2 separate regions of the Homo sapiens genome follow, and region 1 is linked to region 2. Evidence: promoter capture Hi-C in human tissues and cell types (Jung and others, 2019). All regions are on one chromosome and are shown on one strand. The core of a region is centred on a gene start or on the middle of the fragment in contact, and the rest is flanking DNA. Distances in the headings are between cores, read along the strand shown. Region 1 has its middle 6.2 kb from the start of MIR7153. Region 2 holds the start of CIDEA (cell death inducing DFFA like effector a).

What was found. Contacts are between HindIII fragments. The study calls those that stand out against the background at their distance.
Region 1: a fragment that was not itself captured here is called in contact with the fragment with the promoter of CIDEA in region 2 in 3 of the 25 tissues and cell types used here (H1 embryonic stem cells, lymphoblastoid cells and spleen).

Annotation. Positions count from the first base shown.
Region 1 is chr18:11,659,118-11,663,201 of GRCh38, forward strand. No RefSeq gene overlaps it. Among named protein-coding and RNA genes, the nearest start is that of MIR7153, 6.2 kb to the left of the region's middle. The HindIII fragment of the contact is 6,531 bases long and covers 1-4,084 here.
Region 2 is chr18:12,252,202-12,256,080 of GRCh38, forward strand. CIDEA (cell death inducing DFFA like effector a) reads left to right here and starts at 2,160. Exons shown (of 5, transcript NM_001279.4): 1 at 2,160-2,220. The coding sequence starts at 2,183. It overlaps LOC105371996 (a long non-coding RNA gene), which reads left to right and starts at 2,812. Exons shown (of 2, transcript XR_935158.3): 1 at 2,812-3,230; 2 at 3,378-3,879. RefSeq lists an enhancer at 1,296-1,902. The HindIII fragment of the contact is 10,266 bases long and covers 1-3,516 here.

The DNA of each region.
Region 1 (4,084 bases), core at 1,174-3,673, 590 kb before region 2:
CAGCTCCAGCTATTGTGTGAGCAAGAGTTGCATCACACCTTCTCATGCACCTCTTCAGAGCCTCAAGGCCTCATGAATCCTTAGTCCAGCTCTTCATGGGCTCAGGAGGATGGTTGCAAGTCCCAGTCTGCCCAGGAAGCACTCCCAGTCACCCTTGTTGCCCTGGCATAATTATTGCGACGCCCCCCCACCCCGGTTCACTCTCAAAGTGCCCTGGTTTGAACTATAAAAAATAGGCTCAACGCATGCTCTGATGGGCCTGATGCAGGCACAGTGTGAAAGAGGCCACATGCCTCTTGCCCCCAATGCTGGAGAGGTCACTGGTTGACACCACAGGTGATCTCACCCCTGGGGTGCATGAGTCCAAGGGTAGGGGAGTTAGCATCCCAACTGGAGAGGAGAGCCAGTCCAGGAATCCCCCTTTTTCCATGGCAGAGGAGGCATCCCCGGAACGAGGTTGGTGTGGCTTCTCAGAGCCACAGTCCCAAGCTCCCTGATATGAGCTCTCTCCCTATCTCTCTTCTTTATCCCCACCCCTCCTTCCTTCTGCATCAGGCTTTGATTTCTGGAGAACCCAGATTAAAATGAGGATTTACTTCCATGTGGCCCTAAAGGAAAGAATTAGAACTGAAGAGTAGGAGAGCAGGAACACGAGAAGATACATTTTGGTTCAATATGCAGCCAACCTGACAGAAGCACACATATGGAATTATCTTCCTGGGGGAAGAGTTCTCTGTCATTCATAGGTGTTCAGACAGAAGCTAGACAGTCACAGACAGGACTATTGCAAGGAAGAGCTCAGTATCCGATGGGGCTGGGTTAGCTTTTCATTGCCTTCCTATTGAGGATTCCAAGATGCAATATTTAATGAAAAGTTATTTCATATGTCTACCTTGCTTAGAGAAAGTAATTGAAATGTGGAGAGAGATTTAATTGGCAAACCTTATCCAAAGTATTGTTTCCCATGAATAGTCTGGCTCACCATGTGCTCAGAGAAGGGCAAAATGGCCAGAAGATCCTGACTTAACATTGAAAAAAGGTACAATTATCCCCAAACATTTCCAGCTGACATAAATATGCACACCCCATCTAAAAAGTACAGCAAACCTGAAAGCCCCATTGGCTGATACTAGTAACCCATTTCTCTGGAATCAGATGATTTATTTTCCTTTGAATGTATCATTTCTGAAGTAATAGGTTAATATTATTTTTAAGTTAATTTTTTTAAAGGTCTGTCTGAATGTTCAAAGATAAAGTTCGCATCACCCTCCCATACTGGCAAGATAGAGTTTGGTATTGTTTTCAAATACGAAGTCACTTTCCTTCTCAAGGAACTGGCCTGGGAGTGTCTCGGAGAAGTTAAATGCAGTGTGGGCTCAGCCACAAAACCGAATAATGCCACTGCAACAACTTGATTCTCAGGAGGGAAAGAAGACTGGCTCGGAGTACATCGGTGGCTACGGAAACCAGCCCTGTGGACACTGGAGAGAAGATGTTTCCATCTAAGTCTATTAAAAAAACCCCAAGACTCCAGCAAATTCAGGCCTGTAAATGTTAGAAGCGGTTTGGTACGGTGATTAGGTTAAGGCATCAAGGACACAGCTCCAGGACACTGTGTGGGTGGCGGCGCCACGGGTCCAGAAACCAGGAGGGAGGGAAGGGGGGTGTATTCCTCCTGCCCAGCAGGCAAAGCAGTCCACCAGGTGGGTAGTGTCTCCAGCACACAAGCTGGGTTTTCAGGGCAGTGTTCCAGCACCAGCAAGGGTCTGGGGTGCTAGACAGGGAAACTGAGGCAGAGACCCACCCACACAAACTGGAACAACTTGGCAGAGGAAAAGAAGACACAGGCAGATGCACACCTCAGTGCCTTCAGCGGGCACACAGGCACTCCAGCGCACCGGGGAGAATGATGACAAGAACCAGGTCAGACCTCACCAGATAAGATTAGCCCAAGAACGAAGGGAAGAAAAATACCCAGGCGGGAACCCACAGAAATGTCAATGGAAGCAGCTAAGCAGGACACCCCTTGACACTTCTTGAGGCATGACTGGCATGTGCCTGGACCTTGTTTTTATTCGAGTGCCCATTTGCCATTCCCAGGGCCTATGTCCTAAGTCCACCTAGAAGCCCCGGCTCCCAAGCCTCTCTGAAGTGCATCATTTTTCCCACTGCATGCACTTTTTGGCATCTGCTGGAGCTCATGAAAGCATCCCTGTAAACTTTACAAAATTAATCAAGGAATAAAGGAAGGCGAGAAATGAAAATAAACCCAGCTGGCGGCACACTCAGCATTCATCATTAGGTCAGCAGCTCTCTGATCCACTTTCTCATAGCTGTTTGGTGCCAGTTGCCTCAGAATCCCGTGGACCCTGTTACAAGATTATAGTTCCCCTTGACTGCCCTATCGATAACAACTTCAACATTACAAAACGTCAAATTTCCCTTTGAGATATTCTTTCAGGTCCTGCATATCAGTGAAACTGCTGACTCAGCTGGTCTGAAGGAACCTAGGAGAAGCTGACTCACCAAGGATGGCAGTTTCCACATCCTAATGAGTTCCTCCCCTTTTCCCCAACCAATCAATGACTCTAATTTTCCAGTCCCTCATCTTCCACGATCCCCTTAAGGGTCCCAGCCCAGAACTTCTCTGGGAGATGGATTTGAGGGTCTCCTCCCATCTCTTTGCTCAACACCCTGTGATCACGAAACTCCCATCTCTGCTGCAAACCCTGCTGTCTCCATGTCATTGATCTGTGACTGCACAGCAAGCATGTGAACCTGTTGGTCCTGTAACACTCTCATTGGAACCATTTCATGGAACTACTTTTCCTTCAGGTTGAGCTTGTAACAGGGACCAGAGTCACTGCAGAATTCAACAGTTGTCCTCCTCATTGCCCTCTTCTCTTCGATCAACCAGGTTTCATTTTCAGCCCAGTTCTCCAAAATGAGTAATGTGCCGCATTTTGAGCATTCATGTGAGAACAAGCAGTGAACGAGAATTCTGTGAACATCGGTTCTCCAGCTCCAGAGCCCTCGGGTCTCTCCTACATCCATCTCTTAAGTTCTCACTGAAGGCACTACTTCCCTCACCTTTATACCTTTCCTCCCTCGTGGAAACAATGATGCTTCTTATAGCATCATACTGGGATTACGCTACCAGTATCCACGTACATCTATTCAAAAAACCAGATGGAAGCAGCCTGATAACGGTGATGGTCTGGCCTAAAATGATCTAGGTCTAGAATTTATAAGTGGAAGAGAGCCCTGAAAGTCCTTAGTTTAATTCCTGTATTCATAAATGTGAGGATTAAGAATTAAAGGGACTAAGTGACTTGCTCCTTTGGATTTGCCCAAGGACCCACAGCTAGCTGCCAGCTAGTGGCAGCAATGGAACTAGAATCCAAATGAAAGTTTTCCCCATCTCACATACTCCCAATTTTTACAGAACAGATAAGGGAAAACTCATGGCACCACTTGGAAACTGGTTACTCCAGATATCTTCCTCTCCAGCTCATGTCCACCAAATGACAGCCAATCACATTTGACAATGTAAAAATCAATGTTCACCCAGCACTTTCTATGCACTTTTCCCCAAAGTCCCTACTTTGGGGAAAACAGGAGAGTAAGATGAAGCCATTCCATTCCATGGCTCAAGAGCTCATGATCTAGTTGGAGAAGTGAGACATTCATCCAATAGTTCTGGCAAGTGACCACACGCCAGGCACTGCTGGAGATACTGACAAGGCATGAGCTAAGCAGACTTGGTGCGGGACACGGACAACGTGAAAGCGAGGCAAATAAACAGACAAGAAGAGTTCAGATGGAGCCCATCAGGGGCAGTGTGAGGGAGAATGTCTGACCACTTACAAAGATGGGGAGGCTGGAGGCCAGCTCTTCTCAGAGGTGTGATATTTGAGCCGGTATGCTTGGAGAAGAAATAGACAGTCTGCAAAAACCTGGGAGAAGAGATTTCCTGGGACAAGGGACAAGGAGGCACAGGCCAGAGGAGCAGGTAACCAAGGAGGAGGAGGGTGCGAGTTGACCCTCAGAGAGTCAGGCACAAAACCAGGACAGGCAGGGTTCA
Region 2 (3,879 bases), core at 910-3,409:
GTGACCAAGGGGTCCCCAGGGCCTGGTCTCACCACCATCTCCGCTTCCACCACAGACTTGCTCCCGTCCAGGATTCCTCATCTCTCCAGTCTCCCAAGCTCAAAACCCCAGGGTGATCTCCTGCTGGGTCCCTTCTGCCATCGCCATGGCCTGGAAATGTTTGCTAGTCCCCACCCCACCCCCATGTCCACACTCAGTGCCCAGGTCTTTATTTTTATTTTGTTAGAAGTGATAATGTCACTATGGTTATGTATGAGATCATGTCCTTGTTTCTCCAGAGATGCAAGCTAAAGGATTTAATTTGGAAGGGTTCAAATTCAAATATAAAGAACAAAGAAATATGTCAAAATGTTAACAGTGGTTGAATCCAGGGGCTGGGTGTAAGTGTGCTCATTGTACTGTTCTCTCTTATCTATCTATCTATCTATCTATCTATCTATCTATCTATCTATCTTATATATAGATAGATAGATATATACACACAAACAGATTTTTTTCTTTCTTTAGAGAGAAAGTCTCACTCTGTTGCCCATATTGGAGTGCAGTGACATGATCACAGCTCACTGCAACCTCAAACTCCTGGGCTCAGGTGATCCTCCCTCCTCAGCCTCCTGAGTAGCTAGCACTACAGGTGCTCGCCGTCATGCTTGGCTAATTATCGTTATTTTTGTGTAGAGATAGTAGTCTCACAGTGTTACCCAGGCTGGTCTCAAATTCCTGGCTTCAAGCCATCCTCCTGTTTTGGCCTCCCAAAGTACTGGGATTACAGATGTAAGCCAGTACCCTCAGCCCTGTTCTTTCTATGTATCTCTATATTTGAACTTTTTCACAATAAAAAGGTTAGAGGTAAGTTGACCTGAATTGATTGGACCCATTTTCTCATCCATCACATTGGGGCTGTGAGTGGGAGGGGCAGTGAATGACCTCCTAAAGCTGTGTCCGCTCAGTGCCTCTGGGGGAAGCTGCCCCCTGTGAGCCTGGAGCTGGGTGTTCCCAGCAGGCGGAGTCCTTGACTCTGGAAGGCAATTGCCTTTGGCTTCAACAGTCCTGCAAGTCACAAGGCTTGTTGACCACGGTGACCCTTTCTGAGAGCCAGCGGAGGAAGAGGGCGGGCATAGGGTCAGGTCTTAAGAGATCAGGTCAGTCTGCTCAAACCAGGTGGGCTCAGGAGGAGCCGGCGAGGGTCCCGCTGCAGCTCCCGAAACGCTGTTTCCAGGCGGCAGTCAGCAGTTGGGCACGAGAGGATATCCTAGCAAGCCTCCATCCCAGAAAGTTACACCTCTTACTGCCCGAGTCCCACCCCTCAACACTGAGCCCACCTCTTCAGTCCTGTAGTGAGGGGTTCTGGGAACCCCTTGTAACTGCCCGCCTTCCTCGGAGGTCTCAGAGGCCCTAATTGCGTCTTCCGATGGGAACAACCATGAGAGCAGGGTGTGGACGGAAGTCCCCCAGCCCCAGCGGGGTTCACTCTTTGCCTCCTCACTCTGCGAGGGTCCCTTACTACAGCTAAAAGGCAATTCATGCAGTCCAAAGGCTCCTTTCCCCTCCCGTTCTGCATGCCCTTCTCACTGTCCCCAAATGCTCATGACATGGCCTTGAGAGCAGCGCAGCGGGCAGGAAGCCCAGGCGCCTCGGAGAACCTGAAGGGCTGCAGGTCCCGGTGTCTGCGGCAGCTTCCGCATCCCTGCAGGGAACCAGCGGCTCGCTGAGCCTGGGGCTGGGCTCTGGGGGACTCCAGAGCTGGAGGCAAGTGGCGCTCACATCCGTCTCCTCACCTGCCCCACCCGTGGCCTGGGTTTAAAATCCACATACCCGTCTTTCCGCGGCCAAAGTGATGCTGCCAGGATTGGTTATGACCCCAACTGCCCCGACCCCCAGAAGTGCAAAACGAACAGGCTGGCAAGTGACCAAAAGAGACCCGGGGAGCATCTGGGCTTCCAAGGTCCTCGGTACGGCCCAAGGCAGCGAAGGACGCGCGGCTCCAGGCTGCGGGAGCCAGGACGACCGGGGGCTCCCAGAGCGCGAAGTCGCGATCCTCGGCGGTGGAGAGCTCGTGCCAAAACGTCCTCCCCTGCGCCAGTCAGGCCTTCGCGGGGCTGGCAGGCGGGCGGGGGCGGGGCCGCCGCACTTTAAGAGGCTGTGCAGGCAGACAGACCTCCAGGCCCGCTAGGGGATCCGCGCCATGGAGGCCGCCCGGGACTATGCAGGAGCCCTCATCAGGCGAGTGCCCCGCGTCCCCCTGATTGCCGTGCGCTTCCAATCGCCTTGCGTTCGGTGGCCTCATATTCCCCTGTGCGCCTCTAGTACCGTACCCCGCTCCCTTCAGCCCCCTGCTCCCCGCATTCTCTTGCGCTCCGCGACCCCGCGCACACACCCATCCGCCCCACTGGTGCCCAAGCCGTCCAGCCGCGCCCGCGGGCAGAGCCCAATCCCGTCCCGCGCCTCCTCACCCTCTTGCAGCTGGGCACAGGTACCAGGTGTGGCTCTTGCGAGGTGCGCGGGCGTCTGCAAACCAGGTGACAGCTGGCGAGTGGCTGCATGCATCTCTGGCCGCTGCTGCAGTCGCGGGCGCAGAAGAGGGTCCGGTCCCAGGAACCCCGAGCAAAGCTTCCGCGATGCGAGGGGACCGGGCTTCTGGGGGTCCTGGAAATCACAACGGGAGCTGGGCGCGGGAGGGGCCCAGGCTTGGCCCCTCCTGGAAGCGCGGGCTCTGGTCTCCGAGGGGAGGCCCCAACCGTCCGGCGGAGCCCTCCAGGTTGGTGGTGCTGGGAGAAGCGCTCCTCCTTGCCTCCGGGTCCAAGGGCGGAGACGCTGCCTGGGGAGCAGGGGGGACAAGGGGCGGGTGGACCCTGAGGAGTCTTCCCTGCGCTTCGCACCCGCTCGTGGTCGAACAGGCAGCATTGGCTATTTTCCTGCTTGGGTTAATATTCATATCCCAACAGACCCAAGCCAATTCTTGGTAAAATCCTAAGTCATTGCGTGGCAGCAACTGTAAAGTAAGGTCTAAGAGGGAGATCGTGTTTCTCTGAAGATCAAGTACCTGGAAAAGGATAGAGAACCATTTGCGGGCTTGAAGGTGCAGGCGTTCAGCGGCGCCGGGTCCCACTGTGTGTGCTACGTGTGGCGGGCAGAGAGACTACATGTGTGAAAGGGAGCGGTCCGGCTACGAAACGCAATCTATGAGCTTCCAATCCCGGGTTCTTAAATGGGAGCTGTTGTAGACACTGCAGGTTAGAAGCATCTTTCTCTTTAAAAATAAGCCCACAGTACAAGTCGGGGCGGTGGCAGGGGGACGCTGAGAAACACCTGCTTCGTGTATGGTCATTAACACGCTTAGGCCTAAAGGTCAGGGCCCTGTATCTTTTGCGTTCTTCCAGAACCATCCACACCACAGTCCCACTTCCAGGAGGGGAGGTCTTAGCAGTTTGGAATGCGTCCTTCCAACCACTTTTCCAGTGAATTCACAACACACCCACTGTTCCTCCGGAGCATGGGGGAAGGAGGTGTGGGCTGACTCGCACTAACCAATCCTGGTTGGCCTCTGAGCAGGATTCAGGCTGAGCCTGTCCCTGCCTCTGACTATTATAACAGCTCACCAAAATCCAAAATGCATCTGTGTGGGGTCTCTGTGAGGTCGTGTGAAGTGGAAGTGACTTGCTTATGAGCTGTTGACAAATGAAACATTGGGAAACCTTGAGTCTCCTAGGACACATTCCTTCCAGCTTGGCTCATCCCAGGAGTGAATGACTCTACCTGTTATGGACAAGCTGTTGCTGCAGTTCTTTGAAATCTACCTGCTTCCAGGCTGAACTACTGTCATTCTGTGAAATCTACCTGCTCCCAGGCTGAACTACTGTCATTCTGTGAAATCTACCTGCT